Linked DNA regions of Homo sapiens: regions 1 and 3 are each linked to region 2. The links are contacts of gene promoters, found by promoter capture Hi-C in human tissues and cell types (Jung and others, 2019). All regions are on one chromosome and are shown on one strand. Each heading gives the region's core, a stretch centred on a gene start or on the middle of the fragment in contact. The rest is flanking DNA. Distances are from core to core; before and after follow the strand shown.

The links. The method cuts DNA at HindIII sites, captures the fragments that hold promoters and counts their contacts. A contact is called where the count stands out against the background at its distance.
Region 1: a contact is called between a fragment that was not itself captured here and the fragment with the promoter of POU3F3 in region 2, in 1 of the 25 tissues and cell types used here (dorsolateral prefrontal cortex).
Region 3: a fragment that was not itself captured here is called in contact with the fragment with the promoter of POU3F3 in region 2 in 1 of the 25 tissues and cell types used here (dorsolateral prefrontal cortex).

Annotation. Positions count from the first base shown.
Region 1 is chr2:102,997,447-103,000,952 of GRCh38, reverse strand. No RefSeq gene overlaps it. Among named protein-coding and RNA genes, the nearest start is that of LINC01935, 15 kb to the right of the region's middle. The HindIII fragment of the contact is 4,212 bases long and covers 1-3,506 here.
Region 2 is chr2:104,852,768-104,856,379 of GRCh38, reverse strand. POU3F3 (POU class 3 homeobox 3) reads right to left here and starts at 2,265. Exons shown (of 1, transcript NM_006236.3): 1 at 1-2,265. The coding sequence starts at 869. It also overlaps a transcript of PANTR1 not described here. RefSeq lists an enhancer at 2,072-2,661. The HindIII fragment of the contact is 12,067 bases long and covers 1-3,612 here.
Region 3 is chr2:103,283,445-103,286,990 of GRCh38, reverse strand. No RefSeq gene overlaps it. Among named protein-coding and RNA genes, the nearest start is that of LINC01935, 300 kb to the right of the region's middle. The HindIII fragment of the contact is 6,261 bases long and covers 1-3,546 here.

The sequences.
Region 1 (3,506 bases), core at 327-2,826, 1.9 Mb after region 2:
AGTGCAGTGGCTGATCTCGGCTCACTGCAACCTCGGCCTCCTGGGTTCAAGCGATTCTCCTGCCTCAGCCTCCTGAGTAGCTGAGATTACAAGCCTGCCACCACTCCCAGCTAGTTTTTGTATTTTTAGTAGAGAAGGGGTTTCGCCTGTTTGTCCAGGCTGGTCTCGAACTCCTGCCCTCAAGTGATTGCCCATCTTGGCCTCCCAAAGTGCTGGGATTACAGGCATGAGCCACTGCGCCCAGCTGCTACTGATTTTTGTATGTTGATTTTGTATCCTGCAACTTTACTGACTTCATTATCAATTTTAAGAGTTTTTTGGTGGAGTCTTTAGGGTTTTTTCTATATAAGATCATTTAGTCTGCAAAGAGAATCACTTTGACTTCCTCTTTTCCTATTTGGATGCCTTTTAGTTCTTTCTCTGCCTAATTGCTCTTGTTAGTACTTCAGTGCTATGTTGAATTAAAATGGGTAAATAAATTATGCTATATTCCTAGGGTAGCTAACTATCCTAGTGTATCCAGAACTAAGACGTTTCCAGAAATATAGAACTTCCAGTACTAAAACACAACTGTTTGTGCTTTAGATACAGTGTGTAAGAAGGTTAGAAGTTACCACTCCTTCGTAAGAAATAAAAAGCAGATAAAACTGAAAAATCAACAACTCTTCTTAGATAAGTCAGAGAAATGAAGTCACAGGACAAACTTCCACCTCTGAATTGGACAAACAAACAGGTGAATACAGAGAATCACAACTTAACCTGAGCAGAAACCACAAGTCGAAACCAGTGCCAGGGTAAGGAAATTAAGCAACTAATTTCTGGAGGACTCTGTGAGCAAATCTGAAAGTTAAAAAGTCCTGCGGGGTTTAGGCGCAGTCACTCATGCCTGTAATCCCAGCACTTTGGGAGGCTAAGGCAGGATTGCTTGAAGCCAGGAGTTCCAGACCAGCCCGGGCAACAAAGTGAAAGCCTGTCTCTGCACTTTTTTTTTTTCTTTAAGCTGACATACTGGCATGTACCTGTAATCCCTGCTACTACGGGGAGCAGAAGCAAGAGGATCTCCTTAACCCAGGAGTTTGAGGTTGCAGTGAGCTATGATCATGCCATTGCACTCCAGCTTGGGTGGCAGAGGAAGACCCTGCCTCTTAAAATTTTCTTTTCTTAATCTTAAATTTTTTAAAAAGATTTTAAAATTCCATCCCAGTTCTCACTACTCTAATAATCAGGGATTTCGGAATGGTACGTGGACATTATCAACCTCTACTGTTTTTCTCTATAACCTTGGCAGTAGCACAGAATACATCCAGGTGGTATTCTCTTCCTAAATTTGTCTAAATTAAAATTTTCTTAATTAAAACAAAATCATGTGGGGCTCCCACACTTTTGTGGGTTTTATCTCCTGAGACACCATCAAATTCTCATTGTGAATATCAGAGAAAAATCTTCTCAGGATTCTAGCAGGAGCAGAGGTAAAGTAACCATTTTTGAACACCCCAGGGCAGCAGTCCCCAACCTTTCTGGCACCTACTGGTTTTGTGGAAGACAATTTTTCCACAGATGAGGTGTGGGGATGGTTTCGGGATGACACTGTTCCACCTCAGATCATCAGGCATTAGATTCTCATAAGGAGCGCACATCCTAGATCCCTCACATGAGCAGTTCACAATAGAGTTTGCAGTCTTAGGAGAATCTAATGTTGCTGCTGATCTGACAGGAGGCAAAGCTCAGGCAGTAATACTCCCTTGCCTGCCACTCACCTCTTGCTGTGCAGCCCAGTTCCCAACAGGCCACGGACTGGTACCACTCCACAGCCCAGTGGTTGGGGGTCCCTGCCCCAGAGCATACTGTGCTCCTTAACAAGATATGCCCTCAGCAGAAACTACTCAGTCAGAACCAAACTTTCTGGAGTTTTGTTAGAACCTAACTTACTTGGGGAAAGGGAAATGTCAAACTCCAGGCCCCACTAGCCATCCTGTCCCACCTAAGGATGGGAGAGAACTGAGAAGAACTTGTGAAAATCACAGTCCAGAGACAGAGCCTTATGAAAAGACTGAAACCTAATCATAGGACCGTAAAACACTTCCCCTCTCACACACCTTACCACTATATTGCTAAATGCCTATTCTTCTTTTATCAAGTATTTAATGTCCATCTTTCAACAGAAAATTACAAGGCATATTAAAAGATAATGAATTCAGTTGAACAGCGTGAACAAGCATCAGAACAAGAGTCAGATACAGCAGGAATGTCAGAACTAGCAAACCAGGAATTTTGTTAAGTTATGGTTAACATGCTAAGGGCTTTCATGGAAAAAGTAGACAACATGAAAGAACAGATGGATAAGGTAAGCAGAGACATGCCAATAAAAAACAAATGCTAGAGATCAAAAACACTGTAACAAAAATAAAGCTTTTGATGAGTTTATAAGTAGAATAAACACAGGTAAGGAAAGAAACTCTGAGCTTGAGGACATCACAATGGAAACTTACAATACTGAGAAAAAGAGGGGAAAAACAAAAAGTCAGAGTATCTAAGAATTGCAGAGCAGCTACGAAACATGTAGCAAATGACTCATGGGAACACCAGAAAAAGAATTAAGAGAGAAAGAAAGGGAAGCAACATTTAAAGCAATAATGACAAAATATTCCTCATTCCTCCTTTTGTCCCTGGATCATTGCTTTTATTCATTTCACTTACATATAAGCATATATATTTACACCTATGCATCACAAAATGACATTGTGGTCAAAGACAGCCTACATGTATGACAGTGATCCCATAAGCTCAACAAATTCCCCCAAAGGCACAATTTTCCCAAATTAATAACAGACGGAAAACCACAGGTCCAGGAACTCAGATAATATGAAGCGTAAAACAAAACAAAACATTTTACCTATAGAGAAGCAAGGATTAGAATTATGTCTGACTTCTCAAAAACCATGCAAATAAGACAACAGTGGAGAGAAACACTTAACGCATGAAAAGAAAAAAACTCACCAACCTAGAATTCTGTACTGTATGAACTTATACTGTAAAATGAAGGACAAATACTTTGTTAGACAAACAAACATGCGGCAAATTTTTTGCTAGTAGACCTGCCTTGCAATAAATATTAAACAAAACTTCAAAGAAGAGGAAGATGATATAAAAAAGAAACTGATGTAAATTTAAAAAGAAAGAACATCAGAGAATGAATAAGTGAAGGTAAAATAAAAACATTTTTTATTATTAATTGATATAACAGACAACATTTTTTTCAAAATAGAAACAATAATGTATTAGAATATTTAGTATATATATGCATGTGTATACATATATGTATGTAACTATATGTATATATACACACACACAGAGGCATATGTGTCATTATGTGTCACATAACGACAGGGATACATCTTGAGAACTGTGTTCTTAGTTGATTTCATCATTATGTAAATATCATAGAATGTATTTATACAAATCTAGATGGTACCGCCTACTATACACCTGGGCTATATGATATTGCC
Region 2 (3,612 bases), core at 1,016-3,515:
CCCTGCGCGTGGTGCGGGTGCGGCGGGTGAGGATGCGCGTGGTGGTGGTGGTGGTGGTGGTGCTCGGCCAGCTCTGGCGTGTCCCCGCGCACCAGCCCCGGGTGCACCAAGCTCTGGGCTCCACCGCCCGCGCCGCCGCCGCCGCCGCCGGGCCCCGGTGGCGCGCTCAGCATGCCGTTCACCGTGAAGCCTCCGGGCTGCGAGTAGAGCAGACTCTGCGGCGGCGGCTGCTGGCCCCCGGCCATGGACGGGAGGTGCGCGGCGGCGGCGGCGGCGGCGGCTGCGGCTGCGGCAGCGGCGGCCGCCCCCCAGCCCCCAGGGTGGCCCTGGTGTGGGGGCGGCGGCGGGGGTCCGAGGTGCGGCGGCCCGCGGTGGTGCAGCGCTGTGCCCGCGTGCAGGTCGTCGCGCCCGGCGCCGCCCTTCACGTCGGGGCCCTGCGGCGGTGGCGGCGGCGGCTGCGGTGGCTGCTGGGGGCTGCCAGCCATGCCCACGGCGCTGCCCGACCACGGCGAGCTCGCCTCCACGGCGGCGGCGGCGGCAGCGGCGGCGGCGGCGGCGGCGTGGGGCAGGGCTGTGACCCACTGGTGCGCGTGGCTCAGCATATGGCCGCCGTTGCTGGCGGCCATGGCCCCCTGCATGAAGTCGCTCTGGACCATCTTGACAGAGGACGGGTCCCCCCGGTAGGCGCCCGAGGTCACGGCGGCGCTGCCCGGCTGCATGCCGCCGCCCCCGCCCCCTGCGCCGCCCCCGCCGCCGCCGCCGCCGCCACCCCCGCCGCCGCCAGCCCCTGCCGCGTCCGAGTGCACAATAGAGCCGGCCGCGAGCAGGCTGTTCCCCGGCAGGTAGGGGTTAGAAGCCGCCGTGGCCATGCCGCTCCGCTCCCGCCACCCCACCGCCGCCACCACCGCCGCCGCCGCCGCAGCAGCAGCCGCGGCCGCCGCCGCCGCCGCCGCCGCCGCGCCCCCCGCCTCCCGCCTCCTCCCCCCCTCCTTCCCCGCCCCCGCCCCGGGCCCCCGCCGGCCCCGCCGCCTTCGCCGCCTCCTCCTCCGCCGCCGCCTCCGCCCCCGCCGCCGCCGCCGCCGCCGCGGCCCCCGGCTGCAGCTGCAAGGCCGCTCGGCAGGGCGCGGGGGTCGCCGGCCGGCCTTGGTCACCAGCAGCAGCAGCAGCCGCAGGAGCAGCGCTCTGGGGAGGGGGGCTCGCTTCTCGGGGTGCGCTCCGTGGCCACCCCCTTCAGGGGGGGTCGTGGCCGCCCCCCAGCCCCGGCGCGCTGGGCTCGCTCCAGCGGGGCTCGCCGGGCGGGGCGGGGACCTGCACTCGGGGCGCTCTCCCGGGACGCGCGGGCTCCCGCTCCTCCTCCTGTCCTCGGGCGAGCCCGGACTCTGCCCGGTCGCGGGGCTCCGTCCACCTGCTAAGTGAAGGTTTCACGGGAGATAACAAAGAAAGAAGCTGCTCCTTTCTTCCTTAGCCAAATTACGGATGACCAGCAACCGGCCCGCTCCTTCTCTTGTCCGCTCTCTCCTCTCCTCTCCTCTCCTCCTCAGGAACACATTTCACTCGTTTTCCCTTAGAGTAGTAAAACTTTTTCGTCCTTGAAGGCGTGGTGCTGCTGGCTGCTCGCGAGTGCGGAGAGGGGAGGCTGGCTCCTGCTCTCCCCCTCTGGTCCTCTCGTTTCAAGTTTTGTTCTGTCCTAGGAAAACTTCTTGCGATGGTGCATTTCTCTGAAGTTGCTATTGCCGGAGCTCTTGGTTGCCTCTGAAACAAGAGTCCTTTTTCATTCTCCTCGCAACAGTCACAGTCTGATGCGACATCTTTCCTTTTGGGCAGAAATTAGGAAACAAATATAACAAGGAAAAAATTGAACAGGAAAAAAAATGATGTCGAATCGCTCTGTTACCTTGTTGCTGACGGTTGGGGTTGGTGTTTTATTTTTTTCCCAGCAGTTGTCTGGAGAAGGAGGAGGAAGAAGAGTGCATTGGTGGAGGTGGAGGTGTGTGTGTGCATATAGGGGATCGATCCTTGATACACAACAACTCCAGTGGGCACGCTGCACGGCTCGTAGAGTGCACCGACGGCGGGCGCTGGCGCTGGCCGTGCTGGAGCAGAGTTGCAGCAGGAGCTCGCTCTGCGCCCTCGTTCGCGCTCTCTTTCCCTCTCTCACTTTTCCTCTCCCTCCCTCTCTCTCTCTCCCTCTCTCGGGCGCCCGCTCTCGCTCCGATCTGACAGTTCGCTCTCTGTCCCTCCCTCTCAGAGCGGGGACTGTCGAATGTTTACCCTCCGCCGCGAGCGCGCACCCACCACCACACTTTCCCAAATACAAGGAAGTCGAGCACCAGGGCCCCCGCTGATTGGCTACCCGCTGGGTGATTGGCAGGCTCGGAATGACTGGCTCAGGACGCGAGGCCCCCCTTCCGGCCGTTCCGATTGGTTGCTTTTTAATTTAGGCAGAGCGTCGTAGAAGCTGGAAATCTGTCGTCCTCCAGCCTCCCTCCCCCTCACCACTTTCCCCTCCCCGCCCCTCCCCCGCCGCCCCCTCCGCCACATCTTAACTCTTAGTGTCCGGCCCAGACGTTGGCGTTCCCTCGGCGGCTCTGGGCGTTCGCAATAGGTCTGGGCGGGGGGAAGAAAGGGGAGATAAAAGGGAGGGAGGGACGAGAGGGGGGAAGAGAATCAGAAGGAAAACGAAGGGGGAAACATGAAAAATAGCAACCTGCCCACCCCACCTAGTACGCGTCGGGTTGCTCACCCCCTTACCCCCGCCCCGCCAGAGATTTGTAAAGCGCGCGGCACGGATGTACCATTCAAGCTAATACCTATAGACAGATGTGTCCCCAGTGGTTTCAAAGTTTCCTCTTCCCTTCACCAGCCGGCCCCCTTCTCTGATCGGCGGGGGTGGGAAGCGGGGGCTCGCATCGCCAAGAGCTCTGGTCGTGGCCACGCTCCTTGGAAATCCGCCACCGCAACTTTCCGCAGCCGTTGCGCGCCGGCGGCAGCCCCCTTTGTTTAAGTTCTCGGATGCCATCATCTGGGAAACCTGCAGCCCAGGACCAGCGCGGTGCCCGCGCGTGCGAGACGGACCGCTCGCTGCCGCCGCTCCCTGGCTCCTCCACCCCCTCTCTCCCTCCTTCGCTCTCCCTCCCTTCCTCCCTCCTCCCTCCTCTGGGATTCGTGCAAGTAGCGTGCGTGCCCTTGTGAGTTTGGAGGGTGCCGGTCAGCGGAGCCGTGCGATGTATTTGAAAAGCAATCAGTCCGACCTTCCCCCATAGATTCATCGTAAGTGTATTCGACCCCAATGGCTTTAGGAATTCCCTGTGGCAGCAGGAGCCGGGCGAAAGAACCGGGATCGGCTAGCCGCGCCCTTCTCTGCTCCACCGCTTCCTCGTGTGTGTGTGTGTGTGTGTGTGTGTGTGTGTGTGTGATTAGCGGTGGGGGGGTTTGCTCGCTCTCTATTCTTAGGCATGGTGGTGCTTTTTTTTCTTTCCTTTCTGTCTCAGATGGATTTGCGTGGTGGATGGGGCTGGCGGCGACAAATGCTTTCTCAGCTCTAACCCAGCTGAAAGAGTTAAGGGGGATGGGAGGGGGAGTGCACCCGGTAGGCGAGAGAAGCGGGGGTGG
Region 3 (3,546 bases), core at 895-3,394, 1.6 Mb after region 2:
AAATTATCCCTTGAAACTAGGCTTTCAGGGAAGAAGTATTTGTTGCTGTATATTATGTCCATGTGGAGATCTGATAGAGCATAGACTTAAAGTCATGCAGATGGCCAGATATGTTGGTTATTCCAGAACTTTGAGAAGTCTTGCTTGAGACAAATTATTTGACAATGCAAAATTAATAGCAGAGTCTACCATTCTGGTTTGGTAACAAAAAATTACATAGAAATGAAAACTTTTCTTCACACATGCAGAAATGTGTGTGTGTGAGTGTGTGTGTATATATAATCTTCCTCTTGCATTTCCATTGCTTTTTAAATTGATATAATTTTGCTATTAAATGAATCTGACATCCTGAGAATATTTCAAGAAACTTGAATACTACATTTCTTGCTATGATTCAGTTTTACAGAAACTGTTACACTTGAATCTACTAAGTTAGAGATGAGAAAATTAATACAAAAATAAAAGAAAATAGTTGAACTTTACCTTATATTTCAAAGTCCAAAACGATGTATTGGCAGCAAAACAGATTCTGTGACTTTTGTGGAAGAGAGTGGTTCAATTTGGAGTTTTAATTCCTGAGTTTTTTATTTTTGTTGTTCTGCATTTAGCATTCCAAATTTTCTTACATCTGTACCTCTGTTTGGGAGGAGGAAATGTACAGGATGGGAAAAGGGAACCGGAGGCTTTTACAGGTATAAATATGTAACTGAGCCCTCAAAATAGGCACTTTGCAAAACATCAAATGATACCTTTTTCTGAAATATGAGAAAAATTGCTGAACTCAATAATCGGGGTATGCTATAATAATATTAAATAAGCTGTCAAAAGAATAACATTTCTCCTGAAATCAATTAAAATGAGCAATCTACTAATAATAGAATTAGAAACTGAGTTGATTGTCATTGGTGGTGGTGGTGTTTGAACCAAAAATGCACATGGGCTTTCAAATATTCAAGTACTTCACCATCATGTTTTTTGCACCTGATGAATTATTAATACAGGGCTTGTGCTGGGCTCACCAGCTATTTCCGAATGCCTATTAGTAAGTCACAATTTGATGTGTCACCATGAAGGGTGAAGGGGATGGCTAATAAGAATATAATCTATTCATCGGTGGGCACACACTGATATCAGTTACTTGATCTACTTCGTTTTGCTTTGGGTAAATTATTTGAATGAGCTTTGTGATTTTGTGTGACAAATTGCTTGTTTTTGTTTGTTCTGTTTGTTGTTTTCTCATTCTTGTTCTTAGAGGCAGGCAGGCATTCATGTGTGCATGTGTGTGTTTTAATGGACAGTTTTGTGTGCTGTAATTTTTTGTACTTCTTTATACCAAATATTTCAAATACAAACATACACACACATATATGTACTGAATACCTGTATTTGTGGTGTCTGTTTACATTTTCTGTCATGTAGTCACTAAGCACACAACGTACACTTAAAGGATGTCAAAACTGACAGCCTCAGCATGATTGATGACGCTCTGGTAGATTGATTCTTACCAGGTGTGGTGTGATGGGAATTCAAATGCTGTTCAGAGCTCTTATTTGTGTTAGTAAAGTTTTGCTTTTCTGTAAGTTTTTGGGTGGAAAGAAGGCAGGGGAAGCTTCTGAACCGGTAATTGTAAACCCTTGTTTAAGATATATTGAATATGTCAAGAAAAAATACACGGAATTTTTTCCCAACATGGGTATCTGATGCATGTTATCCATTTTTATATATTTACTTTTCAACTCACACCTATGTAGTCTCTTACATTATCAGCATAAATATTTTCAAAGATTTCAAATTACTGTTGCTGTTATTGATTTGGGTAAACAAATGCCCCATTTATTCTCTTAACTGGACAGAAGTGATTACTCCCTGCCTGAATGCATGAAAACACCAAACCAACATTTTAATTGAAATTTCATTTAAAAATCCTGAGCCAGCTGCAAGTTTGACCCAGCGAATGTGTCATTCTCTGGCCTCTATGCACGTAGTGCCTCCTCTCTAAACTAAATCCAAGAGCTCAGATTGGCCCCTACTGGACAATAGCCACCAATGCAAAAGAGCAGGGATCTCTTTGACTGCTCTGGGTTTCATTGCCCTCATGCTCATCACTGTGGCTGACTGACACCAGGCACCAGAGGCGATCCTGAACAGTAACCACGTATACATTATCAGAATGAAGCTCACTCATTTTCCATAACTGAATTCAGTGTTTTCTGATAAAAAGAAATTTTCTTTCCTTTTGGCCACTTAAAGTAGGAATGACAGTGCTAAATGGGTAAATTTCTGCCCTGGGTAATTTCAGAAAATGGAACTCTGTGCCTCAGGATGTTGTCAAGTGTGATCTGTCATTAACGGAGGGGAACTGGCAACTTAAGTCATCAATGGTCACAAGTGAAGCGTCCTAACTTCACTCCCATCCTTACTCATCTTTCCAAAGAGCACTCACTCAACTCGATCTTTGGATATAAGTGGTCTCAAAAGGTTGTCCCATGATCTGCAACAAACAATGTTTCTCAACCAAATTGTCAAGGAAAATTATAACACACAGCAATTGAATGTCTTCTTTTTTTGCCCCTTTGACTTGTTCTCAAGGTTTCAGGTAAGCAATAGGGGTAAGAGAAGAGGCACTTTCTTCAGACTAAAATGAGAGGGAGCTGACTGTGAAGATTCAACTGTCTTTATTCAACAGGTGGTGTAACTACTTCATGGACACTCTCCTACCCTCATGGCCAGGAGCTGAGAGAGATTCTCAGCAGCTGTTGTTGGACAGTGCTCATTAACACAAACAAAACAGCATTGCTTCCTAGATTCTTTGTACTACATAGTATTTGCAGGACTTTTTATGACAAAAAGTAATTGCCTAGCCACCAACTAACTTTCCCAATACTTGTTTTCTCTGTTATTTATCTTGACTTTTACCTGATTATCCCTTGTTTCAACCCTGCTACCTGATCAATAACCACAATATGTCCCCATCCCGCCCCATCCTTCCCCATCCTTAACCCAGTGATTCTGTGCTCCTGTTTCCTCTGCTCTTTCTCATCAACTCTGTTTTTGTTTTTGTTTTTTTTTCCTTTTTGAGTTGGAGTCTTGCTCTGTCACCCAGGCTGGAGTGCAGTGGCACGATCTCAGCTCACTGCAACCTCCGCCTCCCAGGTTTAAGCAATTCTCCTGCCTCAACCTCCAGAGTAGCTGGGATTACAGGCACCCGCCACCATGCCCAGCTAATTTTCGTATTTTTAGTAGAGATGGGTTTTCACTATGATGGTCAGGCTGGTTTCAAACTCCTGAGCTCAAGTGATCCGCCTGCCTCAGCCTCCCATAGTGCTGGGATTATAGGCATGAGCCAATACGCATGGCCGTCAATTCTGTTTTCTTTGCCTTAGAGTTAGCCTCTCAGTGTCATCTTTCTGGTCTACTCTGTCCCCAAGAATACGTTGTTAACACTATGGCCTGTTTTTCTTGGTTTTGGAGTTACTCAGTTAGACAAGGGACACTAAACCAGTCTTAAGCTCTTTCCAGGAATATGAAAAGTTGCCAAAGTGCCCT